2 separate regions of the Homo sapiens genome follow, and region 2 is linked to region 1. The links are contacts of gene promoters, found by promoter capture Hi-C in blood cells and fetal thymus (Javierre and others, 2016). All regions are on one chromosome and are shown on one strand. The core of a region is centred on a gene start or on the middle of the fragment in contact, and the rest is flanking DNA. Distances in the headings are between cores, read along the strand shown.

Evidence for each region. Contacts are between HindIII fragments. The CHiCAGO score rates a contact against its expected background, and 5 or more counts as called.
Region 2: a contact is called between the fragment with the promoter of VWA8 here and the fragment with the promoter of SUGT1 in region 1, in 1 of 17 cell types (total B cells). The highest score is 6.1, in total B cells.

The regions. Positions count from the first base shown.
Region 1 is chr13:52,649,583-52,654,276 of GRCh38, forward strand. It overlaps SUGT1 (SGT1 assembly cochaperone of MIS12 kinetochore complex), which reads left to right and starts at 3,254. Exons shown (of 13, transcript NM_006704.5): 1 at 3,254-3,376; 2 at 3,464-3,521. The coding sequence starts at 3,339. SUGT1-DT (SUGT1 divergent transcript) reads right to left here and starts at 2,725. Exons shown (of 1, transcript NR_170300.1): 1 at 1,723-2,725. RefSeq lists enhancers at 2,555-2,894, 3,004-3,505, 3,615-3,734 and a silencer at 2,985-3,254. The HindIII fragment of the contact is 4,517 bases long and covers 786-4,694 here.
Region 2 is chr13:41,959,573-41,963,768 of GRCh38, forward strand. VWA8 (von Willebrand factor A domain containing 8) reads right to left here and starts at 1,537. Exons shown (of 45, transcript NM_015058.2): 1 at 1,281-1,537. The coding sequence starts at 1,443. VWA8-AS1 (VWA8 antisense RNA 1) reads left to right here and starts at 1,597. Exons shown (of 4, transcript NR_039974.1): 1 at 1,597-2,662. RefSeq lists enhancers at 1-270, 271-771, 867-1,006 and a silencer at 1,207-1,616. The HindIII fragment of the contact is 5,183 bases long and covers 1-2,049 here.

The sequences.
Region 1 (4,694 bases), core at 2,004-4,503:
TTTTCTGCCTTGGCTTCCCAAAGTGTTGGGATTACAGGCGTGAGCCACTGCACCCAGCCTGCACAAATCTTGTGCATAACTTGATAAAATTTTATGTTTGAATACACTGCTGTGATTACCAGCCAGATCAAGATATGTAACATTTCCCGCATCCGAGATTTCTTCATGCTCCTGTTCCCCACCCTCCCTGACAACCAGGAGGTTCCCTTATGATACCTCTCATCTAAGTGGAATCAATCATGATGTACTCCGTCTGGCTTTTTTTTTTTTTTACCACAACTTATGTATATAAGCTTCATCCATATCGTTGTGTGTAGTAGTCGTTCATTCCTATTGCTATGTAATATTTTTTTCTCCTATTTAAGGACATTTAGATTATTTCCAGTTTTTGCTACCTTGGGTAATGCTGCAATGAATATTCTTCTACATGATCATAAATAATAAATACTCTTGGGTATATGCCCAGTGGTAGAATTATTGGGTTATGGTCTGTGTATAACTAGCTTTAGTAGATAGTGTCTGATATAGTTTGGATATGTGTCCCCACCCAAATCACATGTCAAATTGCAATCCCCAATGTCGGAGGTGGGGCCTGGTGGGAGGTAACTGGATCATAGGGGTGGGTTTCTCATGAATGGTTAAGTACCACCTCTCTTGGTACTGTCCTTGCAACAGTGAATTCTTGTGAGATCTGGTTGTTTAAAAATGTGTAGCACCTACCCCCACCCTACTTGCTCCTGCCATGTAAGATGGCTGCTCTACCTTTGCCTTGTGCGGTGATTGGAAGCTTCCTGAGGCCTCTGCAAAAGTAGAAACTGCTATGCTTCTCGTACAGTCTGCAAAACCATGAGTGAATTAAACATTTTTTCTTTATAAATTACCTAGTCTCATTTATAGCAATGCAAGAACAGACATACGGTACCACAGTTTTCCAAAATGATTAAACTCTCACCAACAATATATGAAAGATACAGTTGCTACATATCCTTGTCAGTGCTTGGTATTGGAAGTCCTTTTAATTTAAGCCATTCTGGTGGTAGTTTTGGTATCTCATTGATTTCAATGTCCATAATATATAGAACTTCTTTTCATGTTGGGCCCATAGGGCGGTCTTGGAATTCACCCTTTCAGAGGCCATACATATATGTGTATTGGTGCATGGCAGAGGCTGGTGTACACACATTAGTGTATGGCTGAGCCATAACCGGAGCATACCTGAGACTAACCCTATGGTCTAAGAAGAACTTACGTTTGGAGTCCTGGGCTAAGGAATCCAGGAGCAGCCAACCCAGAGATTCACTCCTTATCTATGAAGGACATCCACATCCCTGGCCCGTATCTTACGCTGTACAGATCAAGGCCCTTTGGGGTTAAATGGAGGTTGCTAGAAGGAGAGTGCTAAGTGAAAATGCTATATAGACTACGTGCTTTTTACAAATGGTAGCAGTTCTCCAGGTCAGCCCTCCACCACCGGACCACCCTTGTATGTAAATCCTGAATAAACCTTGTCTCCTTCACTGACTCTGCCTCTCTTCTTACAGTGCCATCCCAACTGGAGTCAGTGGGGTCCAGAAGGACAATTGGCCATTTAGATAACATTTGAAAACTAACCAAGGTAATTCACAGTAACATTAAAAAATACAAATGAACATTTCAATAAAGGCAGAAAAAGCAGTTGATATTCAATGCTTTCCTCCTGATGTTATGACCAAGACAAGGAAGTCCATTATCACTGTTTTTATTCAATAGTGGAAACACTAGCCAGCAACAAAAGGCAAAAATAAATAAAAATAAAAGGTATAAAGGTTACAGAGAAGTTAAACCATCTTTATTCGTGGATTGCAAGATTTTGATCACAGAAATTCCGAAAGAATCTACAGAGTATTACAAATAACAAGGGAACTTAGCAAGATGCTTGCATATAAGGTCAGTATGTTAAAATCAATATTGTTTATTCTTACGAGTAGAATATAAAAAAGTCAAAATGCCATTTAACATTGTATACAAAACACTAAATACTCAAGAATAAATCTAATGAAAGATATATATGATCTCTATACTGCAATCTATCCAAGCACAGCTGCATTAAAATATAGATATATGTGCAATCTACAAAATATTGCCAGGAGAAATTAAAGACCGCTTAAATAAATGGTGGGGGAAGAATGATATTCATGGATTGAAGGACTTGTTGTTAAGATACTAGTTTTCCCAAACAGATCTATAGATTCAATGCGAGCCCAATAAAAAATCCCCCCCCTTTTTAACAAGCTAATTCCAAAATTCACCTAGAAATACAAAGGCCGTAGAATAAGCCAAAACAATCTTGGGAGAATAAGTTACAGGACTTAAAGATTTATTATAAAACTACATTAAATTAACATAGTTTGGTACTGGTATAAAGTTAGACAAAGACTACTCCCTCCCGCTCCTCAATCTGCCCCCATCCCTAGAACGTGCTGGCAGCTTTCTCCATCCGATCTGCAAGGGTTAAAGGGCGCTGAGGAAGGGCTGACCGACTGGGGTGGGAAACAAAGCGGCACTGAGATAACTTCAGGCCACCTTCCTCCCCTCAGTACCTTCGGATGAAAGGTTTCCCTTCTTGGTCTGGGAAGCCCACTAAGAAGAAAGCCTGGGCTGTGGCGTTCTGGGGAAGTGAATAGTACGGCCGCCGGGCGCGTCGCCCCAGGAACCAGAAGGCTTTTTGCCGCTATTAGTGCAGAATGACTTCCGGCAAGTCCCAGTCGTTTAGAATCCCCAGCCCAAAGATCGCGGGGATCCACGCGTCATCCGGGCCTCTGCTCCCGGAAGAGACCACGCAGCCGCTAAAGACGTAATGGAGGCGAAAGGGCTTGGCTAGCTGTGGCAGCCATGATAAAAACTAGGGAAAATGGGAGCTCGAAGTAGCTTCCGTTATTAACAGACATACAAACGCCCCTAACCGCCACACGTTCCTTAGGGATGACAGTACGTTACAAAAGTGCTTCTAAAGTACTACTGAAAGCTCCGTGGGAGTGCCCGCTGGCGTGGGCGCGGTGGAAGGGAGGAAGAACGTGTACGCCCCAGGCCTCCGTAACCATGGCTGCGAGGGGCGGGGACTGGGAGCGCGGGTCCTGGGCCGGGGTGCGGCTGGGAGGAATCGGTCCTCCACTGTCCCAGCCGGCCCCGCGCCGGCGTGTCGCCTCCCGTCCCCCTAGCAGCACGCTGCGTGGCTGCTCGCTGGCTATTTAGGACGGAAGCTCGGTTGGTGTTTCTCCAGAAGTTTCCCCCTTGGGCGGTGGTGGAGGTGGTAACCGTGATAGTAGCAGCTCCGGCGGCAGCAACAGCGACTACGAGGGATGGCGGCGGCTGCAGCAGGAACTGCAACATCCCAGAGGTGCATGTTTTTCTTTCCCTTTGGTATTTATTTTATCCCCCTTTCCTTGGCTAGTGAGCCCTGCTGAAGTCGTTGTTTTCCTGACAGGTTTTTCCAGAGCTTCTCGGATGCCCTAATCGACGAGGACCCCCAGGCGGCGTTAGAGGTGAGAGAGCCCATTTCTGCTTCCTCCACTCTTCTTAGGGGAGCTGGGCCACTTCGGGTCCCCGCTGACCCGCCTTCTCCCCGCACCGCCGGACAGGGACCCAGGCTCTTGTTGATGCTGCGTCTCAGCTCCGGTATTGAGATTCTCCGTCTCTTTTCTCTGTTACACGGTAGCCGCGTTACCCCAGACTCCTGTCTTGCCCTTTCCACTCCCTACAGCTCCTGAGAAAAACCTCCTCTATTTCTTGGGAGCATGGTTGGCATTTGTAGTTTGGCTGAAAGGATTTTTTTTTTAATGACATTTATGATTAGAGAAGTGGACTCTGGGCTCGATGAAGTTAATTTTTTCGTTTGACAATAATTCTTGCCATTCTTACGTAAAAGTGTCGGTATGAAGTCAGTCTACTGGAGCAAAACCCTTTTCCCTCACGTCCCTGAAACTTTCCAGATGTCTTATCACAATTCATTATTCACTCATTTGTATATTCATCAAAATTTTTTTTTGGAGTGGCTGTGTGCAAAGGCGCTGATTGCTGTGGGTTAAAGTCTTGGTTATATACTCAGCTAACCTAGAAATCACTTTTTGTAGGTGTGCAATGAAGGCAAACCATAAAGCTGTAAAGGAATGTAAAAGATCAAGAGTTAAATAATAAGAATTAAAGGAGAACCTAAAGATAAATGATGCTGCGGGTCACAGAATTTAGCCAGGAGTTTTTGTTTGTTTTTGCGTTAAATCACAGAAAAGAGGAAACCTGTTTTGCTGTTACGTTTAACAATTTGAGGCAAGACAGCGTCTTTTCTAGCTATGACTTTTATAAGAAATGTGCCACATGGTACTAGAGCCTCCGTTGAGGAGATCTTTGAGTGGAGATTTGAAGGAACAAGGGAATTAACTTGGAAGCTCTGGGGAAAGAATATTCCAGGCAGGACCAAGAGCCAGTGCAGATCTTGAGGTAGGAATGAAGTTGGCCTGTATGTGAAGCAACAAAAAGGCCCTTTTTATTAGAGGGCCCATTTGATTAAGAGAGGTTGGACAGGAAACTAGGAGCCAGGTCCTATAAGGCCTTTTAGGGTCCAGGTGTGTTTTTTACACCTAAATATATAGACCTTTAGATACTGGGAGTAAGGCTTCTGGGATGAGTTTGGGGATAATGTTACAGGAAGCACTGAGAAT
Region 2 (4,196 bases), core at 287-2,786, about 11 Mb before region 1:
TGAATAAAACGAAATACGTGGGACCTAAATATGCTTTTTTTTTTTTTTTTTTTGAGATGGAGTCTTGCTCTGTCGCCCAGGCCGGAGTGCAGTGGCTCCGGTCACTCCAAGCTCCGCCTCCCGGGTTCACGCCATTCTTCTGCCTCAGCCTCCGGAGTAGCTGGGATTACTGGCGCCCGCCACCACGCCCGGCTAATTTTTCTGTATTTTCTTTTTAGTAGACACGGGGGTTTCACCGTGTTAGCCAGGATGGTCTCGATCTCCTGACCCCGTGATCCGCCCGCCTCAGCCTCCCAAAGTGCTGGGATTACAGGCGTGAGCCACCGCGCCCGGCCCATATGCTCATTTCTTAGCAAGGAAAACTGGGGGTTGCGGGGAAAATGCAAGAGGACAACGAAACCTACAATTTCATAGTGAAAACCTGTTATTCCAAGCAGCACTGACATTGACAAAATCTTGTCTGGAATCACTTCACCATTCAAGGGTAGCAACAACAGATATCCTTTCCTTAACCATCACAGTAACTCTAACTCCACCAACACACAAGAAAAAGAATTCCTAAAACCAGCTCAAGTAGAGCCAAAAAATACTGAGCTTAGAAATCAAAGCATGTGATTCTAGCATAGTAATTAGTTGTGTGTTCTCCAGCGAATCACTTTTCCCTTCTGGGTTTCAATTACCTCATTTGTAGAGGCAAGTGTTTTAACTAAATTAAGGTGTAACTGTCAGCTCTAAGAATTACGTGAAACTTTAAGGAAAACTCCTGTAAAACTTGGAAAGGCTCGGGGATGCATTTAAAACACCGTGAACTATGGGTTCTTTGGCAAGAATGTTCCCTTCTAAGCCGCCACAAGCCCTGGCTAGAACATGACACAGACCGGCTTCCAGGCCCTTGAGGCTCAGAGAGCAAGGTCAAATCCAGCTTTCAATAATTCCATAGGGCTGAGGCATTAACCTCTACGAGTATTATAACCTAAGTCAGAATTCTGGGGGTAAAGGCAGCGGCAGGGGAAGGAGAAATCACTCTTCTAGGTCATCAGAAACCTTAGTCCAGACCCCTCGGGTTGCAGAATCAGGCACAGAGAGGGCGAGCGCCTTGCCCCCACGTTACACAGCAGTTAGCGCCGAGGTCGGGACTAGAACCTCAATCTTTCAGCTCCCCGCTCGGCAAACGGTCCTTCCAAGCGCAGCGAAGCAACAGAGAGGAGGGGCGGGGGCGCGCGGGGACCCGGCACGGAGCGCAGGGGCACCAGGGAGGACAGGGGCGCACCCCGAGTTACCTGTGTCGGCCCCCGAGCCGGCGTGCAACAGTCTGACCTCCGGCCGCTGCCTGTCGCCACCCGGCCTGCGCTGCACCACCTGCCGCAGGAGCAGCCGCATGCGCCGCGAGGCCGGGCCGCCGTGGCCTCCGGGTGCCCCGAGGAGTAGAAGCCGGGATTGCATGGCGCCGGGGGGGCTGTCGGGGACGGCGAGGGGGCTCGGGGATCGAGCGGCGTCCCGTGCAGGCACCGTGAGGCAGCGCGGAGAAGGGGACAGGAAGCGGCACCTAGCCGAGTCCGCCGGAAACTCCTTCCCCCGCGGCGCGGCCGGCTCAGTAGACTCAGCCCGGCCCTACCCGGCCCTGCATGGCCCAGACGGGCGGAAAGAGCCTGCGGAGCTCCAGCCCAAAGAGCCGGCACCGTCCCGGGACTGCCCGCACCGCGGGGGTGCTCCGAGCTGCGGCGCTGGGCTCTGGCAAGCGCCTCGCAGTCCGTGAGACTGTCTGTTCACCTGGATGCACCAGGCCTTCACCCGCCGTTTCCCTGCGATCCCACAGAATCTCAGGAGTTCAGTAAATGCCAAGGGTTTTAGGAGCATTTGTCGGTGTGACTCTTCAGATGCTTGCCCCAAGTCTTCGTTTCTTAGTTAAAGGCCCAGTAAGTATAGGGAGCTTTCCCTGTATTCGGCTTCAGATTTCGGAAATGGAGAAAACATGCACAAGATGATGGGAACTTTCACAACTGTCTTGATTCATTGTAACCACACTAGTGTTTCCAAACCGTACGTGAAAGCTTTACCCTTTGTCCTTTTGGTGGTGGTTGTTTGTTTCTGTGTTTTATTACCGCTTCCTAAATTCTAAGGAAAAAATTCACATCTTAGTGATAGATGGAAATTGCTTAAATATCAGAAAGGATCCAGATCAAGCACTTTTCTAGTCATGCTGTAATACAAAAGTTATATAAAGATGATTTATGTCTTTAGTAAAGGAAAAAGTAGGACACTGGCTAAGGCTGCCTCCCTCTTGTACATTCCAACATCGGAAATGGTCCTACCACAAAGCAAACTAAGCCTAATGTAATTAGACTGCATCCCCAAAATGTCACAGTGAATTGACTAAGGCAAAATATTTGAGACAAGTTATACAAGCAAACATCAAAAAGAAGGCAGAAGACCTCACTTTCAGCTAAAGACCTTGCTAATTCTAGAGCTGCCACTGTCTAAATACATAGCACCTACCCTGCGCCTGACCCTGTGATGAGTGCTGAGAAGAGAGTGTTAGAGTGGAGACTGTAAAAGTCAAACAAGGCTAGGTAAGGAAGGCTTTGGGCATCCAGCGGAAGAACTTGAGGAATGAAGGCTGAACCAGGCTTCTAACCTAGATGAGGAGACAGTGAAAATAAAGGTAATAAGTAGTTACACAATATATTATGACTTCGTTTCATGTGTATCTTCTCATTTAATCCTCATAGCAACCCTAAGACATAAATTTAGGATGTAAGCTTATAAAATGCTTTTCCTACTTTGAGCACATTGTATGTATCAAGATTTTAATGAATTATCCCATTTCACATAAAAATGCTTTGAGGTACTATTATTATCCTCCGTTTTACAGATGAAGAAACTGAGGCTAGAAGAATTGAATACCTTGGTCAAGATATCTCCATTTAATCTCGCTGGAACTCAGTAGACACCTGAAAGAATGGGAGAACAACCTAAGGCAATTTTGCAAAGTGGTTGATATAAGCACTAAGAGCTCTTGGAGTTAAGACAATGGAGAGATCAACACAAGTTAGAGCATTCAACAACATTTTTTGCCTAGTTTTATTTTTTTTAGAGACAAAGTCTCACTCTGTTGCCCAGGCTGGGGTGCAGCGGCAGTATTATAGCTCATTGCAACCTCGAACTCCTGGGCTCGAGTGATCCTCCTGCTTCAGCCTCCCTAGTAGCTGAGACTACAGGCGTGCACCACTGTGCCTGGCTAATTTTTGTGTTTTTGTTTTCGTAGCAGTGGAGTCTTGTTATGTTGCCCAGGCTGGTCTCAAGCTCCTGGCCTCAAGTGATCCTCCTGCCTCAGCCTCCCAACGACAACATTTATTGAGTAACTGCTGTATAAACAGTACCCTGCTAGATACTGTGAATCAATGGGCTCACATTAGGTATTGATGATAAATATGCAAATAAAGAATTGCAATACAGTGAGACACGTGTCAAGAGATTTAGGTTCAACATACTGTGGAGTGGATTGCTGCACCTGGAGTCTTCACAGAGAAGGTAGTGTTTGAAATGATTCATGTAGGATATATTATACAAGAGTTTGTCAGGCTGAGACAAGTCAAATCTGGCAGACAGATCATGTACAGAGAGAGAGAGAAAGAAACAGCTGAAAGTGCAGGGCATGATTGAGAACCAGAGAGTGATTCAGTGTGTCTAGAGGTCAAGTATATACAACAGTTTGTAAGAATAAGACCAGAAAGAGAATCTGGGGCCATGTTGTATGCCAAGAGAAGGAGTTTGCACATTAACCTCCAGGAAATGGAAAAATGGTGAAGGTTTTTTAGAGTGACAAAGCTACAATGGGGAGGAAAACTTTGAGCCTGAGAAAAGGCAGCACCTGAGCTTAACTTTGAATGCCATTTAGGACTGGATACACAGAGAAGCGGGGTATAGAGCCTAAGTAGAGGCTTGGAGTCCTGACAGAGTTCAGTTACAGGGGCCATGAGACCAGCCAGATGAGGAGGTTAATCTTTCGAAAGTAGTAGAAGGTGTTGGCAGAGCAGGAGGAGAAGGTTACAGAGTGAAGAATCTTGAGTAGCTGGATGAAGTTGGACTTCATCCGATGAGCAAACTGGGCAGCTACTGGACTTTTTGATCGTGTTTTAGGTGGTGACATACTATGAATTGAATTAGGAAGACAGGAAGCATCAAGTGCTAGCTAC